3 separate regions of the Homo sapiens genome follow, and regions 1 and 3 are each linked to region 2. Evidence: promoter capture Hi-C in 16 types of primary human blood cells and fetal thymus (Javierre and others, 2016). All regions are on one chromosome and are shown on one strand. Each heading gives the region's core, a stretch centred on a gene start or on the middle of the fragment in contact. The rest is flanking DNA. Distances are from core to core; before and after follow the strand shown. Region 1 overlaps MTMR14 (myotubularin related protein 14). Region 2 holds the start of TADA3 (transcriptional adaptor 3). Region 3 holds the start of CIDEC (cell death inducing DFFA like effector c).

The links. Contacts are between HindIII fragments. The CHiCAGO score rates a contact against its expected background, and 5 or more counts as called.
Region 1: a contact is called between a fragment that was not itself captured here and the fragment with the promoter of TADA3 in region 2, in 1 of 17 cell types (neutrophils). The highest score is 6.3, in neutrophils.
Region 3: a contact is called between the fragment with the promoter of CIDEC here and the fragment with the promoter of TADA3 in region 2, in 6 of 17 cell types (total CD8 T cells, erythroblasts, monocytes and 3 more). The highest score is 6.1, in total CD8 T cells.

What each region holds. Positions count from the first base shown.
Region 1 is chr3:9,679,002-9,682,713 of GRCh38, reverse strand. The region is part of intron 9 of MTMR14 (myotubularin related protein 14); the gene reads right to left. Among named protein-coding and RNA genes, the nearest start is that of CPNE9, 23 kb to the left of the region's middle. The HindIII fragment of the contact is 4,297 bases long and covers 153-3,712 here.
Region 2 is chr3:9,790,359-9,793,733 of GRCh38, reverse strand. TADA3 (transcriptional adaptor 3) reads left to right here and starts at 1,261. Exons shown (of 9, transcript NM_006354.5): 1 at 1,261-1,518; 2 at 2,241-2,474. The coding sequence starts at 2,268. It overlaps ARPC4-TTLL3 (ARPC4-TTLL3 readthrough), which reads right to left and starts at 1,186. Exons shown (of 12, transcript NM_001198793.1): 1 at 610-1,186. The coding sequence starts at 612. It overlaps ARPC4 (actin related protein 2/3 complex subunit 4), which reads right to left and starts at 652. Exons shown (of 6, transcript NM_005718.5): 1 at 610-652. The coding sequence starts at 612. It also overlaps a transcript of OGG1 not described here. RefSeq lists enhancers at 1-76, 276-802, 777-876, 803-1,329, 2,434-2,934 and silencers at 1,007-1,296, 1,357-1,446. The HindIII fragment of the contact is 10,858 bases long and covers 1-2,681 here.
Region 3 is chr3:9,878,749-9,882,471 of GRCh38, reverse strand. CIDEC (cell death inducing DFFA like effector c) reads left to right here and starts at 2,219. Exons shown (of 7, transcript NM_001321142.2): 1 at 2,219-2,248; 2 at 3,418-3,530. The HindIII fragment of the contact is 5,760 bases long and covers 2,062-3,723 here.

The DNA of each region.
Region 1 (3,712 bases), core at 1,052-3,551, 110 kb after region 2:
ACATCAACCTTTTCAAACATGCTTCATTTGCTTTTTAGTGCTATTTACTGCATACTATCTTTTGATGAATAATAAATGGAGTCTGTCTGGCAGGGAAAGTCTTTTAAAAAAGGAGGCCCATGAGGTGGGAGATGGAAAATTAAGCAAAAGCTTTAAAGAGATGAGAACCTCTGTTCTAGCCCAAGTGCAAGGTCTAGTCCAGACCCTCTAAGAAACAGCCCACTCAGAACCTGGAACTCCATGGAAGGGCCTGACCCAGTTTTGCGGCACCCTTTTCCCTAGCTGGGGCAGTCTCTGTTCTCTTAAGATACAATTGCTTAGCAGTGTTCTGGGGCTGTGCAGAGAGGGTGACGCATGCCAGCAAAACAGCACTTCCCAGGGGGAGGGGGAACACGGCACCTGTAATTGGAGTGGCTTTCCCAGGAATTTAAAACAGCCTCATTTACCTGACCCTCCCACGCCCCTGGAGAGTTCTGACCCACTTTTAGTGACTACAGAGACAGGCGCTGTAGTGCTGTGCTAATAAAGTCATTATCAGTAGCTGCACAAGGGGTCTCTCAACTCATCTGGCTCAACGTGTCAGACACACCATTGCCAATGGAGCAGTGATTCTCACAGGGCAAGGAAAAGCAGGAGAGGGAGGTAAGAGCTGCACTGTACCAAGCCCAGTGAGCGTCAGGTGGGCTAGGGGAAGACTGCAGCAGCCGGGGAGGGCAGGCCCTGCCGAGGACAAGAGAGCTGCGGAATGCCAGCCACCATGACGGCTGTCTGGAGGAGATGCTGACCATCAGGGAGGGGCAGCAAGTTCCCAAGGCTGGGGCAGGAACTACAGGCTGGGGAGGGCTGGGCTGGTAGAGGGCCAAGGTCACACGGCTGAGCTGAGGGATAAATCCAGCCCTGCCAGACTCCAAAGTCCACATTCTTAATCACTGTAGGTACTCTTCCTATAACACCAGAGTAAGAAGCAGAAGTCTGAGGGAACTGCTCAAAGTGATGACCGAGGAGATATGCTAAAAAACAAACAAACAAACAAACAAACAAGGCTCGTGCCTGACTCTCTCATCCTACGTGCTTCATGAAAAAGTCTCTGGGAGCTGAGCTAAATGCCATGCCTCTGCTTATGTTTCTATGCCTAGAGTACTCTTTCTGCTGGTTGGTAAACTCCTACTCATCCTTCAAAGGCCCAGACCAATTATCTTCTCTTTGGGGTTTCTGTGACCACTGGTAAAAACTGTAATGTAGGTGATGGTTACGTTGTTGCCTCTTTTCCTAGTCTAATCCCCATGAGGGCAGAGGCTGTTTTGGCATCTCTAAGGCTTAGTGTTCAGGGACTAGGAGGTCATTGCAGAATGTTCCTTGCTGCTTCTTCATAGCTGGGGCAATGCTGAGTGCCTGAGGGACAGCAGCCCCAGGGAGGGGTCTTAGGACACAGAAAGAAGGGGCATACCTCTACGGAATTCAATTCGGTTACATGGAGGGCAGCAAGACACATGTGTCCTGCCACAACTGCTCCTATCATTCATTCATTCACTCATTCATTCATTCAGTAAGCCTCACACTGCATGCCTCCTGAAGGGCCTGGCACCAGGCACACAAGGGTGAATATGACCTCAACAATCATGGAGTCACGGGAGAGGGAAGACAAAGTTAACCACTGCAGGTGTGCAACTAAAAGGGGACCTCTAGGATGCTGTGTAACCATATGACTGGAGAGCCAAGCCTGATCTGTAGGGACATCAGAGAAGGCTTCTCAGAGGTGATGACATGAGACAGCATAAGCAACAGAGAAAGGAGACACGTGTTTCTGGCAGAGAAAACAGCACGTGCGAACCTGGAGAGGGCTGCCTTCTTTTGTTTGTTTGTTTGTTTGTTTTTTTGAGACGGAGTCTCGCTCTGTCGCCCAGGCTGGAGTGTAGTGGCGCGATCTCAGCTCACCGCAAGCTCCGCCTCCCGGGTTCACGCCATTCTCCTGCCTCAGTCTCCCGAGTAGCTGGCACTACAGGCGCCCGCCACCACGCCCGGCTAATTTTTTAGTAGAGATTGGGTTTCACTGTGTTAGCCACGATGGTCTCGATCTCCTGCCCTCGTGATCTGCCCGCCTTGGCCTCCTAAAGTGCTGGGATTACAGGCATGAGCCACCGTGCCCGGCCATGGGCTGCAGGAAGATCAGCTGGTCACAAGAACAGGCAAGACCAGACTGCATGGAGCTGGGTAGGCCATGTACAAGTTCTTGCATTGTATTCTGAGGAAAATGGGAAGTCAGTGGTAGGTTTTAAGGCAGGGGTGACAGTGATGGCCCTGCTCTATCATTTCAGTGCTTGCTATCTGAGCACTTCATTTCTAGTTACTCCTCAGTGAGGCCCCAGGTTCAGCTGTGAGATGCACTGAGACAGTGGTGGCCTGAGCTAGGCACTGCACAGGAGACGAGGGCAAGAAGGATTGCAGTTGCACTAGGGGCAGAGACTAGAGAACCGATGGGAGCTGGTGATGGATGTGGTGGGAGCAAAGAACTCGAGTTTCAGGTGTGAGCATCTGGGTAAATGGTGGGCCATGGCCAACTCTACTCTGGACAGCTTGAGTCTGAGGGGCCGCCTGAAGGGACATGTGTGAAAGGTGATGCAGGTATGGATCAGAGAGGCCTGGCTGTGGGCTCATGGTGTGGACGATGGATGAGATCACCTGGGGAGATGGTGAAAAGGAACAGGGTACCGGCACCCCAGGGCTTTGCGGGCAGAAAAGGCAGAGCCCACACCCAGCCAAGGAAGAGCATGCTAGGAGCCCCAGTGAGACAAAACAGGTTGAGCAACACTGAAGAGGTGGCCTCTTGGGAGGCGCCTGCCTGCCTGCTACACTCCAGCCCTGCTGCCTTCACGCCTGGAAGTTTCAGTGTTCACTTCCCTGAATTAGCTAGCTAGCAGCCTCTTCATAATTATCATTACAATCTGTCTGGTATTTCAGTTCAGGAGTCCCTTTCAAGCAGTGATCATATTTGAGCCTGGCACAACTCTGAAATAGGTACTGCCAACACCATTTTCAGGGGGAAGTGAGGTCATCTGTTCAAGGCCACAGAGCCTTGCAGGAAGGGCCAGGCAAGCTGGGACCTAGATCTAGGGCCTGCATCTACTAAGCAGAGTACCTCCTCACACGCACAGGACCCCTTCCTAAAGAGGCAAACATCCTTGGGACCAGTGCCTGGAACTGTCACATCTCATTTGCTGAGTAGTTCATCAGATCCAGTTTGTACCTGCATAAGGAGAAAAAATGGTGCCGGAAGGGACCAGAAAGAGGGTGGCTTGGGGCAGAGTCTACTTGACCTCTGCATGCAGCACATAAAGAAGGAAGCCTGCCGGTTCTTTTATCTACTCAGTCTGTCTAGGCACAGCCTGGGACATGAGACCACAGCACAGGTACCCCAAACCTGTTCCTTCTCCAGGCTTCCAGACCATAACAAACAACTGGTCTGCTTTCCTCCCCAGTGCTCCCTCTCTTGCAAACACCTGCATTGGGGAACTCTGACATCACCCTACTTCATACACTCAAACAGTTGCTGTGAGCATAAACCTTGTGATTAGGGTCTGGATATATATAGAGAAAACAAGATGGACCTTGCTGCTATCAGGACAACAGGGTACTGACATTGGTGATCTAGGAGCACCCAGTTGCTTAACATAGATGGGTCAGCCTTTCAAAGAAAGAGAGATCTCAAGGCTGG
Region 2 (3,375 bases), core at 12-2,511:
AAAGGGAGGACTTCCAGGAAGGGAGGGATGAGCAGTATCACAGCTAACATACACTAAGGCTGACACAGTTCAGTTCTGACCAGGAAGGGCCTGAATGGAAGCAACACGAGAGATCCTCCAATGGGGTGGAAGCAGGGCTGGAGGTACCAAGAATGGGATAAGGAAGTGTGGCCGCCTGCCTTAAGCAACTGTAGGGTCAGGAAGGCAGAAGAGGACAAAGGGCGTATGTCGTGAAGTTCCACTGTGGATAGGCAGGTGGACTTGCTTCATGCCTCAGAGGCTAAGAGGCCGACTACGTACCCTCGAAATGCTCCAAAGAGCCTAGGAGACCCCACTTCCGGGTTCCTACAGGGCTCAGGAAAAGCCCCTACCTGCTTCGAAGGCTGACCGTGAAGCCACAAGGCCCACTTCATACCAGGGAGTACCCCCACTCGCCCCTTCCTCACCTCGGGCCCCCGCCCCGTCTCTTTTTCCCACCCTCATCGTGTCCCCACAACCCCCGGACATCCCTCGGCCCCGCGCCCCTGCGGCAAAGCCACATCTCCCACCGACCCACTGCCCTGAGGCCGAACAGCCGGGGGTCCCTGGCCGGGGGCCCGGCTCTCTCACCATCGCGGGCGCTGGCTGGGCCGGAAAGCGGAAGTACGGAAGTGGCCAGCCCCGCGATGCCTGCCCTTTCGCGAGAAGCGCAGCTACGGTCTCCGCCCGGACTTCCGGACGGTACCATCTATGCTCCGAGCGGGGTAGAGAGCCCTTACGAACGCTTGGGCCTTCCGGAAGTTTTCCACCTAGGGCTGTCTCGGTATTTTTAAATTCTTGCACTCGAGTCACTATTTAAGCTCCTCCAGGAATGGGTGCAGCTTCCCTTTGTGCCTTCGGCCTTCTTGTCACCTTTGCCACAGCCTCCCCCAGGTATGCAATGGTACAGCCCAGCTTCAGATTGGGCACCAAATTAGGACAAGCCGAAGCGGACGAGCCCTTCGTTTCTTCCGGTTCTGTACCCCCATCCTTTCTCTCGCCCCTCCTACCCGCAGCTCCTGGCGCTCGGCGGGGCTAACTGCAGCGCGGAGATCTCGGCCGCCAAGCTCCGCCTCCCGCCCCGGGCTGTGCCCCGGGGCTCGCCTGAGGCCGACCACCCGCACCCCACCTCTAGCGGCTTTGCTCGAGGCCCACCTTCTTCCCACCCCCGGCAAACTCCAGTAGGCTCGCCCTCGCTGACTCCCCGCCCCCGCGTCAACTGCAAGGGGCCCGCCCATAGCCAGTTCCGGGGCGGTTGCTCACATCGACCGGAACTCCCCGCCCCCTCCCGCGGCCCCTGGGGCCGTAGGAGGCCGCAGCGAGGAGGTAGAGGGGGCGGGGGTCGCACTAGGGTGTCCCTAGAGAACGAGGACTCTGAAGGCGGGACATTTGGGCGACCCCCGGGCGGGGCCAGCCATTAAACAGTCCCACTTCTGTGCCAGACACTGAACTGGGCTCTTGACGGGCATCATCTCTTAATCCTCAGAACATCCCAGGGAGGTAGGTACTATTGTTATCCCCATTTTTCAGATTCAGACTTTTAATGGGGAAACAGACCGAGACTTCTTTTGTCCCCATTTTACAGATGGAAAAACTGAGACTGAAAAAGGTCAAATAACATGTTCAGGGGCATATAAGTAGAGAATGGTAAAGCCTGGGCTTGAACCCAGGTCTGTCTGGCTTACCAGCCCACGTTCTAAACCACTGTTAGTGACTAGAGAAGGGAGAAAGGTGGAATAGGGTAAGAAAAGAGGCCAAGAGTCCCAGAGAACATGGTAAGAATGGGGTGCTTGGAACTCAAAGTCTTAGCAGAACCCAAGAGAAATAGAAGGGAAGGAAAGAGCATCAGAAAGGCGAGGCAAGGCATAGCAGTATAGCATGGTGATCAGGGTGCAGACTCAAGACTAGCGGGGTTCAAATTGCATCTTGGAAGCATAGGCACATACCCACCCTTACAGAGTCTCAGTTTCTTTCTCTGTAAAAACGAGATCACAATGGTCCTTGTTCATGGTGCTGAGTGAGAAATTCAGTGAGATAAACTGATAAAGTGCTCTGCACCTAGCTTGGTACCCAGTTAAGTGCCCTGTGAGTAGGAACTGTGCCATCAATTTTGTCAGTAAGGGACTGAAGCTGGGCTTCCTTGAGGCTGTCCCTGGAGGTAAGAAGCCCTTGGGCTTTTCTCAGACCACTTTGTCTCCCATCAATGGCCCTGTCCTCTCCAGCTCCACAGGATCCCCATATCCTGGGCCATGAGTGAGTTGAAAGACTGCCCCTTGCAGTTCCACGACTTCAAGTCTGTGGATCACCTGAAGGTCTGTCCCCGCTACACGGCAGTGCTGGCACGCTCTGAGGATGATGGCATCGGCATCGAGGAGCTGGACACCCTGCAGCTGGAGCTGGAGACCCTGCTGTCTTCTGCCAGCCGGCGCCTGCGTGTGCTTGAGGCCGAAACCCAGGTGATAACCCCAGAGAGGGGCCAGCACCAGAGATGGACTGCAACAAGTTATGGGATGGGTCATTGAGTTAGCCCCATATGCTGAGACTTGGGGTACAGGGGTTTGTGGGGAGAGGGAGAGAGACGCAAACTGGGTTTGCATGACACAAAAAATACACAAGAATATGCATGATCCTCTTAAATTGCAAGATTTCTAATTCAGTAAGCTTTTATTGGCACCCCACTCATCCCCCATTGTGTTCTGGGTCCTATGCTAGTCATTAGAGAAAGGTAATTAGGACAGTTATGGCTGTCAGGGAGCTTGGCAACTAGGAAAGTGAGAAAGTCAAGTACATACCAGGTGATGTGATGTTGTGGTTAGCAGTCCTAGGGAACTGGAATGGGGAAACCTGGATTTGAATCCTGGCATAAGCGCTTGCTAGCATTGCTGTTTCCTAGCTATGTGACTTTGAGAAAGTTGCCTCATATCTCTGAGTGTCAGTTTCCCTATCTGCAAAGTGGGGTGAATAATAGGACCTACCTTAGTGCTTTTGTGAGGATTAAAAGAGAATTTTTTGCAAAAACTCAGCCCAATGCCAGACACTAAGTAAGTACTTCAGATGTTATTTATTTGCTACTCTGATGACTTTATTCACTGCATAAAGATGCCTTGAGCCTTGTGTGCCAGGCGCTATGCTGTATTCTGCAAAATAGAGATGGTTAAGGTGGGCTTTCTGGTCCTCAGTAGCTTATGGTCTAGTTGAAGAGACAAGGTGTGATGGTCATTCCAGTGTGACCAAACAACACGATTGGGTGCACGTTGGAGCTGTGAAGTGCCAGAGACTTGTGGAGGAAGGAGGTGCCAACTGGACCTAAAAGGATGAATGGAATTAACTTGTCCCTGGGAATCCATGGACCCTCCT
Region 3 (3,723 bases), core at 970-3,469, 88 kb before region 2:
TCCCAGCCCGAAGCAACCACTAACCCATTTTGTCTTTTTTTTTTTTTTTTTTTTTTTGGAGGCGGAGTCTCGCTCTGTCGCCCAAGGCTGGAGTGTAGTGGTGCGATCTCGGCTCACTGCAAGCTCCGCCTCCCGGGTTCACGCCATTCTCCTGCCTCAGCCTCCCGAGTAGCTGGGACTACAGGCGCCCGCCACCACGCCCGGCTAATTTTTTGTATTTTTAGTAGAGACCGGGTTTCACCGTGTTAGCCAGGATGGTCTCGATCTTCTGACCTCGTGATCCGCCCACCTCAGCCTCCCAAAGTGCTGAGATTACAGGCGTGAGCCACCGCGCCCGGCCCTACTTTGTCTTTATATAGATTTGCCTATTCTAGACATTTCATATAAGTGGAATCATACAATATGTATATGATTCCTGTGACTGGCTTTGTCTACTTTCTGTACTGTTTGCAAGGTTCCTCCATGTGGTAGTATGGATCCTTTTTGATAAATAATATGCCATGTATGGATAGGCACATTTAAAAAATCGATTTATAAATTGAACATTCATGTGTTTCTACCTTTTGGCTATTACGAATAATCCTATGGATATTCACATACAAGTTTTTGTGTAGACATATTTTTCATTTCTTTTGGATATGTATGTGTATATATATATGTGTGTGTGTATATATATACACATATATATGTAATTTTGTTTGGTTTTGGTTTTGTTTCTTTTCTTTTGTAAAGACAGGGTCTCCCTATGTTACTCAGGCTAAATTTTAATTCCTGGGCTCAAGTGATCCTCCTGCATCAGCCTCCTTCTGAGCAGCTGGGACAACAGGTGTGCTCTGTATGACACACATACACCACACGCACACACACAGAAGTGGAACTGCTGGGTCAGAGATCTTACACTCTTAACCACTCCACATTTCAGCTTGTCTTACTCTCTGCTATGATTTAATATGTACATTATCAAATTGAGAAAAAGACAAAAAAATTAAAAATAATAAAATAAAAATAAAAAATTATCAGTAATACTAATAATCACTTCGATCCATTGAGTGTTTATGTTTGCAAAGCCTTTATTTTTATTTATTTTTATTTTTTTGAGACAGAGTCTCACTCTGTCACCCAGGCTGGAGTGCAGTGGCGTGATCTCGGCTCACTGCAACCTCTGCCTCCCGGGTTCAAATGATTCTCCTGCCTCAGCCTCCTGAGTAGCTGGGATTTCAGGCACCCACCACCACGCACGGCTAATTTTTGTATATTTAGTAGAGATGGGGTTTTCGCCATATTGACCAAGCTGGTCTCGAACTCTTGACCTTGTGATCTGCCCACCTCGGCCTCCCAAAGTTCTGGGATTAGAGGTGTGAGCCACCGTGCCCGGACTTTTTTTTTTTTTTTTTTTTTTTTGAGACAGGGTCTCACTCTGTCACCCAGAATGGAGTGCAGTGGTGTGATCTAAGCTCACCGCAACCTCTGCCTCCCAGGCTCAAGCGATTCTCCTGCCTCAGCCTCCCAGATAGCTGGGATTACAGGCACACACCACCACGCCTGGCTCATTTTTCTATTTTTAGTAGAGACGGGGCTTCACCATGTTGGCCATGCTGGTCTCAAACTCCTGACCTCAAGTGATCCACCTGCCTCGGCCTCCCAAAGTGCTGGGATTACAGGCGTGAGCCACGGCACCCAGGCTACTTTTTTCTTTTTTCTTTTCTTTTCTTTTTTTTTTTTTTTTTCAGAGACAGGGTCTCACTCTATTGCCCAGGCTGTCCTCCAACCCCTGTCCTCAAGCAATCCTCCCGCCTCAGCCTCCCAAAACACTGGGATTATAGGCATGAGCCACTGTGCCCCTTTACTTTTATTGTCACTAATCCTCACCACTACCCTATAAAACAAGAATCATTATCGTCATTACACAGAGAAGAGAAACGGGCTCACAGAAGTCAAGTGATCTGTCTAAGCTCAAGCAAGCTGATATGGGGTGGAGTTGGGACCACAACCCACATCTGCCTGCTTTCTGTGCCCTCTGTGCTTGATCTCATGTCATGGGCCATCCATTTTGCCAAAGCTTTCGAAACATGCCTTCTCCCCTCCTTTTAGGCCTTTTCTGGAAGTCAGGCTGGCTTGCAGCTCTCACCCCAAGCTCTTTTCCCCAGCTGGGGCTGAAGGCTGGGGAGGAGCTTCATGGGGGCTGGAAATAAATGAAGGGAGGGCTGGGCGGGACAGGGCAGTATTTCCAGGAGGCTGTGAGGGGGAGGTAAGGAGTTTGTTATTGTTTTGGGTTTGGGGATTTTTTTTTCTTTGCTCCTGGAGAGCAGGTTAGGTAGCTCTTGGCAGAGTTTTGCTAGGGATACGAAGTGGGTGAGGCTGAGGCAAGCAGAATCCTCCTGCCTCAGCCTCCCACGTAGCTAGGACTAGAGCTTCTGCAGTGCTAAGTGGGAAAGGGGCTTTCTGCCTCTGTGGGGCCTGGTCTGGAAAGTCCCCCAAATTGTTAAAAGCAAAGAGTGATTGTCCCCAGCTGGCAAGGGGACTTTTGTTTTATGTCCACCCCTTGTGCCCCTTGCTCTGCGAAGCCCTACCTGTGCCGGGAGCTTCGAATAGGAAGAGGACCTCAGGGCCAGGCATCCAGGGACTGAGGGGCTACAGCAGAAACAGACCCAGAGGCACCCTTGGCTAGGAAGAGCAGGATGAAGGTGTAATAATTTTGGGAGTGGTCTAAGAAGACTTTCCTTTTAAAGAGTGGAAAGCAATGAAACTGAGGCTTCAAGGCTGCAAAAATTTCGTCCTGGATCAGAGAAGGGCACTACAGGTGGAGGGAACTATCTGTGCAAAGGGTTGGGCCCTTCAAGAGTTGGAGCACAGAGGTTTAGGAGAAAAAGTGGTGACAGATGAGCCCAGGGCTATCTGCTTAGACCTGTGATCTAATATGGGTGCCAACAGCCACATGGCAATGTGGCTATTTAAATTTAAATTAGTTAAAATTCAATAAAGTAAAAAATACAGCTCCTGTGCCAGGTGCAGTGGCTCACGCCTGTAATCCCCGCACTTTGGGAGGCCAAGACAGGGAGATCACCTGAGGTCAGGAGTTCAAGACCAGCCTAGCCAACATGGTGAAACCCAGTCTCTACTAAAAATCCAAACAAAACGAAACTAAACTAAAAATTAGCTGGGCGTGGTGGCAGGTGCCTGTAATCCCAGCTACGGGGGAGGCTGAGGCAGGATAATTGCTTGAACCCAGGAGGCGGAGGTTGTAGTGAGCAAGATCGCCCCATTGCACTCCAGCCTGGGTGACAAGAGCGAAACTCAAAAAAAAAAAAAATTCAGCTCCTGAATCACACTAGTTATGTTTCAAATACTCAATAGCCACATGGGGCTAGTAGCAATGGTATTGGAGAGTATGTACAAGGCATGCCTCTATCATCACAGAATGTTCTTTTGGCCACTGTGAAGCCTCAGGAAGGGGCTCGGATTGCTCAAGGACCCATGGGAGAGAGGAGGCTTTGACTGGGCTGCCTGCCTGTGAGGTCTCTGGACTAGAGGTGAGGGAACGGTCCCCAGAAGTGTGAGGTGGTGTGACTCACCTCCTGCCAGCGTAAAGTGGACTCTGTCCCCATGGACAGGAACAAATCGGGCAAGGCTTCTTCAGCCCTGAGTTGGGTTATCTGCTCAGTGTGACCAGAGCCAGGGGATGAGAAACATGGAGTGAGTGGGACTGGGGCAGGAGCAGCAGCT